3 separate regions of the Homo sapiens genome follow, and regions 2 and 3 are each linked to region 1. The links are contacts of gene promoters, found by promoter capture Hi-C in blood cells and fetal thymus (Javierre and others, 2016). All regions are on one chromosome and are shown on one strand. The core of a region is centred on a gene start or on the middle of the fragment in contact, and the rest is flanking DNA. Distances in the headings are between cores, read along the strand shown. Region 1 overlaps ATF7-NPFF (ATF7-NPFF readthrough). Region 2 holds the start of SLC61A1 (solute carrier family 61 member 1). Region 3 holds the start of IGFBP6 (insulin like growth factor binding protein 6).

Region 1 (2,794 bases), core at 178-2,677:
AGAAATGAAGGCCAGGCGCAGTGGCTCATGCCTATAATCCCAGCACTTTGAGAGGCCAAGGCAGGAGGATCACTTGAGACCCTATCTCTTAAAAACAAGAAAGAATAGAAGTAATGAATAATAATAAGAGTTGGTAATGAACTATGCAAAGACCTAGAAACCAGACAGTGTAATTAACATGTTGGAGATTCATTTTATTGGAATAGATAGGTTAATTTTGGCCTAGTTCTTCCCTTCTTACAACTTCCCATTTCCTAGCCCATTTATGACTTAGAAGCCAGGATTCTGGGAAGTTTTCCCCAAAAAAAAGATGGGTTTCATTTCCCTTTTGGGCTCCTTTAGAATTATGGCAAAAGGTAGTCCTGCCTCTTTCCCCATTCTGTTTTCTAACCAATTGCTCTCTGCTCTTTGCCCTCCTTCCTGGCAGAAAGCCCCAAGGAAAGCTCAGAGCCAACGGGTTCTCCAGCCCCTGTGATTCAGCACAGCTCAGCAACAGCCCCTAGCAATGGCCTCAGTGTTCGCTCTGCAGCTGAAGCTGTGGCCACCTCGGTCCTCACTCAGATGGCCAGCCAAAGGACAGAACTGAGCATGCCGATACAATCGCATGTAATCATGACCCCACAGTCCCAGTCTGCGGGCAGATGATGCCTCCTCTGGTGGAGAGGTCCTCAGCCAGAGCTCGCCCGCCCAAGAGCCAAGAGAGATGTCATCTTATCCCCTCCCATCTGCCTTGGACATGGCAATATGGGTGGGGGGAATTGTGTGTTGTGAGTAATGGACAGATATGGGGCTTTTTAGCCATGTGGTCATGTACGTTTGACACCTGTGCTGGGGGCCTCCCAGCCCCGGAGCCTCATAGATCATCCCCCAGGGTGGGGTTTCTGATGCATCCACAGCCAAAGGCCTTTCCAGATGGTCCGAACAATCACCCCTGCCCCATGCACGTGTATCTGTCTCTTTTAACACTAACCCTTGGCACTTCTAGGTTTGGGGTTTCTCAGTTCCCTCTCTTCCCACTAAGCCGTGGCTGTTACCTTTTTGTTCCTTACCAGCATGCCACTTCCTGCCAGATAGAGGGAGGCTAGATTTGATGACATATTACCCGCTGACCCAGCCCCAGCCACCCCATGGACTCAGGACTCAGGTCTCCCATAGCTGCTTATTTACCCGTTTCCTTTTTCCTCTTCCTTAATTCTAGTTAAAACATTCACTTACGGAGAATGTAAGGTTACCTTTGATGTATGAAGTAGCAGTATTTTCCAGTTTTTCCATAAGCTTTATTCCTTCTCTCTACCTGCCACCAAAAAGAAAGAAACCCTCAAGAGTTCTAATTCTTTTTCATCTATTTGCAGAGCTATTTGGGTACCTCATTTTGTCCCTTGACTTTAGTGTAGTGGTGGGGTCTTTCCCACCACCCCACTAAGCCTTGGCAACCTCATTTTGTGGCCTTATTATTAAAGATTGCTTGGTAGTGAAAAGGGAAGGGCCCAGAATCTGACTGGCTGATTCTGTCTCCTCCCCTCCCTCCTTCTTTAGTTTAACCATCAGGGCAGACAGGAACAAAGTATTTCAAAGCTTGTTCCATCAAGTTAGGGATTAATCGATTCCTTTATGTTTTATAAGAGTTTACCGGCCAAAGCATATTGTCATCTTTGGTCATTTTTCTGCTCCTGCTTCTCTCTCTTCATTCCCCTATCAACATTACCGCCCCTGTCTCTCTTCTGTAACTACTTCAGACTCAGCCCTCCTGGAGGCTGTCATGTAGGGGACTCTCGAGTTCCTTTGTTCTACCCCATCTCTCCCCCTCACACATCTGTCTGCTTTTCTGAGCTAGAGTCTTCTGTTCACAAGTGCCCATCACCGTCTGGACTATCTTCTTTCTCTTTCACCAGGTTCCTAGCTTAGCCACTAGGTCTTCCAGGTCCTCCAGAGTTTCTTCAACCCATTTCTTCTCTCTTCTCTTTACATGCAGTGCTCCAGGATCTTGAAGCGTCATAGCCAAGATGCTGAGTGGGTTTACTTGAGTATAAGATTGAAAGGAGGGAGGAAGAGGAGAGGGAAAGTGCAGAACTGGTCCCAGCAAAGGACCCCAGGTTCTGGCCTGGGAAATTGGTGACTATTGCTCTCAACCATTCTTACTTTGAAGAGTTGGGTTGCAGAGGGAGCAATTCATCTCTCTTGTCCCTCTTCCACGTTAAGGCTTCTCATCTCCCCTTGGCTCTGAACTATGCAGTTTCTACCAGGACCATAGGAAGCAATTCAGAGCCAGAGGCCTGTGGATAGATAGGTCAGCTTTAATTGCCTTTCCGTATGAAACCCTTCCAGTTGTCCCAGAGCCACTTTCTGCCATCTGTGCAAGCCAAGAATGTCCTTCTCTCCATCTTTCCTACCTCCATCTTAAACATACATACAAAATAACTGCCAGCTTCCTTTCTTATTTTGTCTCCAAAATTGACTGTCACAGGGGAATGAGAAAATGTTCTAAGCTACAAGATTCCCGTTTCCTTAAAGTGATATCCTGTCCTAGTGAACCAGTCAGGTAACAGGTTCTGCTGCATTTGTTTTAAATTTCCCCTCCTGCTTTTCAGAGCTGGTGCTGAACAGGCCACACCCCTAAAGACAAAGGAGAGAAAACACGGTTTTCTCATCCTCTACCATCAGGTACCCAACAGGAATAGGCCCTGAAGTGATTCAGACTAGCAAATGTTATGGCAGATGGTCAGGACGCAGGTTACCACATCCAGGGACTTCACTTTTGCCTTTAAAAATTCACAGCCGTAACTTGTGCTCAGGA
Region 2 (3,052 bases), core at 41-2,540, 260 kb after region 1:
TACAGCCAGCACATGGTTCCAGAAGGCAGCTCGAGCAAAGGTAGCTGGGATCCACTCAGCAGGGAAGTCATGCCGTTCCACGTGCTCATGGATATACCAGGCCTCGAAGGCTGAGAAGAGCAGGGCTGTGGACAGCCCACCAAGTGCTCGCCCCACTAGCAGCACAAAGTAGTCTTGAGAGAGTTTGGTTAAGCAGCATAGTGAGTAAGTCAGGGAGAAGAGGACACAAGAATTCTTGCGACCCAGCCAATCCACAAGGGAGGAGGCCACTAGGCCAAAGAGGACTGTAGAGGCAAGGCCACAGACATAGAGGATGGCAATTTGACCTTCCAGGAAGTAGTAATGCTGGTAGAGTTTATAGAGGTAGGGGGCCTGAAGCCAATCAGCTGCCAGGGCCAGGAAGTAGACCTGATAGAAGTCCAGTTGAAACCGAAGGAAGGAGGGATTGCTGCAGGCCCTTCCAGGGGGTTTAGCCCGGCATCTTGACAGTTCCAGCCCCAGGCAGGAGGCCAGGAGGCCTACAAAAGCAAGGTAGGCAGTCACCAGCATGGTGGGCCCCCGGACGACCTGGGAAGAGAGGTGGGAGTCAGAGCCATATCCATCCTTCGGGCAGCACGGTCAAGGGGCTGTCTTAAGCAGATGGCAGCTCCACCCAACCCCGCTGCCAACTCCACTCCCCAAGATCTCAGACCGGAGGGACCAGTTGGGTGGGTGGGAGGAGTGGCCACGCCAAAGCTGTCTCCTAGGACACTGTGGGGCAGGGAGGGGTAAGAAGACAGGGGAGAGGACTGGGCACTCAACCCATCCTTGCCTGTGAAGAGGGAGTCCCTTTCAATAATCCCGCTCCCGCAAATTCTACTGCCCTTTCCCACAGCAGCTCCCGTACACTTCCTTCTATTACCTCCCGTCCTCGCTGCGGAGCCTCTTTTTGCCCTCAGTGTCTCATCCTCTGTCCCGGGCATCCCTCCCACCCGCGCAGGCCTCTCGAGTTGCTTCAGGGTCATGCGTGTGCATCTCAGAGGCCCACTCCTCCAGGTCACTGGCACCCCACTGCGCCCCCTAGCCCCTGCCCAGCCCTGCCACATCCACTTGCACCTCGCCCAGACTCCGCCTCACCTGCTGCCCCGGTCTGCGGGGACGCCCCGGACACGTCCGGCTCCAGGCCGCCAGGCCACCCTCCCCGCTGTGGCTCCGGCTCCGGCTCGGGTTCCAGCAGCGCTCCCGCCCCTCACAGCCTGCTTCCGGGAGCCGGGCAGGCCTCTGGCCGCCGCCATGATGGCTTCATCACGTGACGGGGGCGCGGCGCCAAAACCCCGCCCCGCCCCGCCCGCCCGCCCTCCTTCCCTTACCCGGGCGCGGAACTCCTGACGCCTGGGGTGGGTCGGGAAGGGGCGACCATAGGAGGCTGCGGTTGCTTCTCCTGGCCTGGCCTCGCTCGCTGCCATCCCGTGACACCTGCTCCTCTGGCTCTTGGATGCCTGAGGGGCCACCCTGAAATAAGTGCCAATTTTCTTTTCTTCCGTGCAGTGCTCGGGAAAGATGCCCGCAGTCCGGTAGAGCCAAGGGTTGGAGCTTCCTAAGGAACAGCACCGCTGCCCGAAGCCGAGAAGGTCTCCTTGGTTTGCCTCCTCTCCCACTGCAGTGACCTCCATGCAAGAGAAGCCAGTATGGTCCAGACACCTGAGGGAGGCGGTGTGGTGTAAAGAACTTGGAGTCGGGCTGCAGACAGACTAAGGCGCAGTCCTGCCCCTGTCACTTACCAGCTGTGTGGCCTTGGGCAAGCCGCATAACTTCCCAGTGTCCCAGTTTCTTTGAAGTCACAGGATAGCAATGCCCAAATAAAGAAGGCTAAAGTTCAGTGGCAGCATGGGGTTAAGAACTTCAGCCTTGGAGCTTAATTCCCTACCTTCTGCCACTTACAAGCTGTTTTACCTTGGAAAAACTATTTAACCTCTCTACAGCTTCCGTATCATCTCCTCAAGAGCCTCCAATGACTTCCCATCTCACTAAGGGTAAAAGCCGAAGTATTTATAATGGCCTACAAGACCCTCTGTCCTCTGACCCTCTGCCACTCCTCTGACTTCATCCCCTGCTCCTCTCCCTCCCATCTATGTTGGCTACCACCAGGGCTTTTGCACACTGTTCCCTGTACAGTTCTTCTCCAAGATATCCACGTGGTTCCCCCCCCCACCTCCTCCAGTTCTCTGTTCAAATGTCACCTGATCTTGGCTGGGCCTGGTGGCTCATTCCTGTAATCCCAGCAGTTTAGGAGGCTGAGGCAGGCCGATCAGTTGAGGTCAGGAGTTCAAGATCAGCCTGGCCAACATGGTGAAACCCCGTCGCTAGTAAAAAAATATAAAAATTAGCCAGGCATGGTGGTGGGCACCTGTAATCCCACCTACTCGGGAGGCTGAGGCAGGAGAATCGCTTGAACCAGGGAGGCAGAGGTTGCAGTGAGCCAAGATCACGCCACTGCACTCCAGTCTGGGTGACAGAGCGAGACTCTGTCTCACAAAAAAATAAAAAATAAAATAAAATTTTAAAAAATGTCACCTGATCAGAGGGGCCTTCCATGGCCCTCCTGTTTAAAATAGCAACACCACCACCTCCAGCACAGTAATCTACCTACTTTCCTTCCAATTTTCTATTCTCTCTGCTGCTTTTACTCTGCAGTACACTATGTATTTTCCTTGTTTATTTATTTACTATCTTGGCCAGGTGTGGTGGCTCACACCTGTAATCTCAACACTTTGAGAGGCCAAGGTGGGTGAATCACTTGAGGCCAGGAATTTAAGACCAGTCTGGCCAACATGTCGAAACCCCATGCCTACTAATAATACAAAAAATTGCTGGGCGCGGTGGCTCACACCTGTAATCCCAGCACTTTGGGAGGCCGAGGCGGGCGTATCATGAGGTCAGGAGTTCAAGACTAGCCTGGCCAATATGGCGAAACCCCGTCTCTACTAAAATTACAAAAAAATTTGCTGGGCATGGTGGTGTGCACCTGTAATCCCAGCTACTTTGGAGGCTGAGGCAGGAGAATTGCTTCAAC
Region 3 (2,961 bases), core at 296-2,795, 420 kb after region 1:
GTACTGACTGCTTGGAATTTGCCTAACATCTAATCAGATATCAGAACCCCTGAAGGGATCCTCTTCCTCTGTGCCTAAAGACAAGCTCCCAGCTAACTACCACTCACAACCCAGGAGACATTTCCCCTGCAATCCTGAGTCTGATCCTTCTTCCTCAGGATGCCCACCCCTCCCCAGACCTTCTCCTTCATTCCCTACATTTAGCACCCAACCATTTAGTTCCAAACTGCCTCCTCTCATCCACCCAGACCACCTTTTAGGAGGACGCCCAGAAGCCTGCACTCGGGCATTTGGAACTGAAAGAAACTCCAAGTGAATTCTCCATCCCCTCCCGTGGAAGGAACCCAGAGCCTCTGGGATGCGCAGTTTGCATTTCCTGCCCTCCCCATCTCCCCGCTGCCCCCCATGTTTTCACGGCTGATTCACTTCTGTCCCACCCACCCAGTGACTCAGCTTCTGCTCTCCTCCCTGGAGCAGGGTGGGGTAGGATGGGTGAACGATTCTGAGCAGGTTTAAATCATAACCCTGATTTGGCAGATTCCCTCTTTCCCCTACTCTTTCTCCCCTCTCCCCTAACCTACGCCCTAGCCTGCCCTCAGTCCCTACTCAAGTCTAATACAACCCTGGATTTGGGGCCTCTTCGGTTCTAGACGCCTCCTGTTTAGGTGCTTCGAACACCGGTATTAGGAGGAAAGGAGTCATTTCTCAGTGTGTGCAGAATTTCAGAGTCTGGGGTTCCCCTCCCCTTTTCTCCAAGTGGAAGCTGAGAACAACATTTGGGTCCTTTCCCCAGCTTGGCCGTCTAGGGTTGTAGGAGCTGGGCCTGCTGGAGCCCATGGGATGGCCCTAAAACCCTCCCATTTCTCCCCCTGCCTCCCCCAAGTTCCCACCTGCACGCACACTCCATCAAGGGAAAATAAATGGAGCAAAAAAGAAGGCCGAGAGCGCAGACACCTTCTGCTGTATCACCAGGTCCCCTGGCTGCACCTCAGCTTCCTGCACTTGCCCCTTCTCCCCCACACAAATGTGCCCCCCAAAGTCGGAAGCGTCAAGGGCCAGGGCGGAAAGGCTTGCCGGGCCACCCACTCCCGTCTCCCCAGGACCCTGCCTGGAGGACGCGGGTCTCACGTGGGCGGGGCAGGGGCGGGGCGCGGACTCACCAGCAGGCGCGCGGGCCGGAAGGCAGCGGCCTCGGCCGAGCAGCAGCGCCCGCAAAGGCGCCTCGTCGTCCTTGGGCGGATGGCACTGCAGTCCTGGGGCGCAGTTAGGGGTGTAGACCCCGCACTCCTGCCCCTCCCTCCTGAGACAGCCCTCAGCTTCCGCGCAGCCCTCGGCTGGCGACCCCCCATCCTCCTCCTCCACGCAGCCCCCTGGACAACCCGCCTGCACCCCTTGCCCGCAGCCTGGGCACCGCGCCAAGGCGCCTCCTGGGCTGGCAGCGAGCAGCAGAGCTAGCAGCAGCAGCAGCGGTGGCAGCAGCCTGTGGGGGGTCATGGTCAGGGTTTGTGCCCCGTCCTCTCCTTCCAGAGCAGTCGCAGCGCAGCTGCTGCCCGCCGCCGCCCCTCTGTCTTAAGTAGCCGCCGGCCAGGGGCCGGGCCCTTTAAGAGCCAGGTGAAGGGGGGTGGGGGAGAGGGCAGGGGCATTCCCTAAACTGGGTGGGACTGGAGAGGGCCCCCCCAACCTGGGTCCTCCCCACTCTTCTTTCCCTCTCCCTTTCCAGTTTCTGTTTACTTCCCAAATTGCTCTGATTTTTCTTGCTTTGTTCCCGGGAATCTCGGCCCGGAATTTGGGAGCTGTACAGCTGGCTGGAGGGACTGGAGGGTGGGGAGGAGCGGAAGAAGGGGAGGACGGGAGTGCAATCCACTTAGTGTGTATGTGTAGGACGACGAGGGGCATGCAGGGACCCGGTGGGGAGTGAGAAGACGGGGGCTGAAAGGGAACTGAGAAGAGATGGTGTGTGTGGATCACAAGAGGAGTGGGCAAATGTGGAGGGACAGAGAAAAGATGGAGAGGGTGGATAACGGGGTCTTGGGAAATTCTACTGCTGATGGGAGAAGTAGAACAGGGCAGAGGAGAGGAAGGGCAAAATTGGGAAAGGAGTAAGAGAAAGCACCCTTGAGGTAAGACTATGGAGAAAAGGGGCCCGAGGGGAACCAGACTGGGGTAAGCCAATGGGGGAAGGGCCGGGAGGCAGGGAGGGATACAACTTGAATGAACCGTAGGAGACCCTAGCATTGTGGTGGGCGCATGCGGAGTCTGGAAGGATTGGAGAGGGCTGTGTGCAGGGTGAGAACTGGCTGGGAGGCAGGGAAAGGGGGAAATTGGCAGGTTGAAACTAGAGAGGGAGAGAATTAAAGGAACTCGTATTCGGGATGCTCTTGGGGACAGTGGCCAGAGAGCAGACCCCACCCCCCTCCCCATCCCCGTCCTTCAGGTAAGCTCGCTCCTCCATTCCTCTCCTCTCCCAGAATCCGTTTCCTTCCCTCCCAGTCATCCATGGGGTTTTCTAGATTCATCAGACTGTCTTGTGCCCAGGGGACTTTGGGGAGGGACTACTCAGCATCTTTGCCTACCTACTTGTCCGCCTTCGCTCCAAGGGTCGGGTTCCACCGCTCCCCACCCGCCTTCCCCAGGCAGTGTCCCGCCCATCCCAGGCACTCCTAGCCAGGCCTCACAAGAGAGAGGAAGAGGGATTGTTTCCTTCGGCAACCCACACCCACCCAACTCTGGGTTATGCAACAGGGACCATCTCATTCTTTCCTAAAACAAGGGCTCTGGGCAGTGACTAAGTTTAAATGCTGGGCCCCAAGCAACAATGTCAGCAAGGCCTTCTTGAACTTTTAGGTAAATAGAAATAATACGAACCTCATTGTCAGCACAGCCCGCTTCGCCATGCAACCCTGGGACCCTAGGACATGTGTTTGGAGAATGGTGTTTTCCTGTTTCCCTGAGATACTGATG

Evidence for each region. Contacts are between HindIII fragments. The CHiCAGO score rates a contact against its expected background, and 5 or more counts as called.
Region 2: the fragment with the promoter of SLC61A1 here is called in contact with a fragment that was not itself captured in region 1 in 1 of 17 cell types (erythroblasts); the score reaches 5.2 in erythroblasts.
Region 3: a contact is called between the fragment with the promoter of IGFBP6 here and a fragment that was not itself captured in region 1, in 2 of 17 cell types (total B cells and naive B cells). The highest score is 6.1, in total B cells.

What each region holds. Positions count from the first base shown.
Region 1 is chr12:53,514,988-53,517,781 of GRCh38, reverse strand. ATF7-NPFF (ATF7-NPFF readthrough) reads left to right here. Exons shown (of 15, transcript NR_159377.1): 12 at 428-767. It overlaps ATF7 (activating transcription factor 7), which reads left to right. Exons shown (of 12, transcript NM_006856.3): 12 at 428-2,794. The coding sequence ends at 645. It overlaps ATF7-AS1 (ATF7 antisense RNA 1), which reads right to left. Exons shown (of 3, transcript NR_046221.1): 3 at 174-2,273. Among named protein-coding and RNA genes, the nearest start is that of ATF7-AS1, 2.4 kb to the right of the region's middle. RefSeq lists an enhancer at 194-693 and a silencer at 1,660-1,901. The HindIII fragment of the contact is 300 bases long and covers 1,278-1,577 here.
Region 2 is chr12:53,250,333-53,253,384 of GRCh38, reverse strand. It overlaps SLC61A1 (solute carrier family 61 member 1), which reads right to left and starts at 1,290. Exons shown (of 2, transcript NM_032889.5): 1 at 1,117-1,290; 2 at 1-567. The coding sequence starts at 549. RefSeq lists silencers at 968-1,017, 1,028-1,307 and enhancers at 773-1,444, 1,578-1,627. The HindIII fragment of the contact is 5,764 bases long and covers 1-3,052 here.
Region 3 is chr12:53,096,251-53,099,211 of GRCh38, reverse strand. IGFBP6 (insulin like growth factor binding protein 6) reads right to left here and starts at 1,545. Exons shown (of 4, transcript NM_002178.3): 1 at 1,161-1,545. The coding sequence starts at 1,494. RefSeq lists silencers at 1,028-1,147, 1,158-1,237. The HindIII fragment of the contact is 8,294 bases long and covers 1-2,961 here.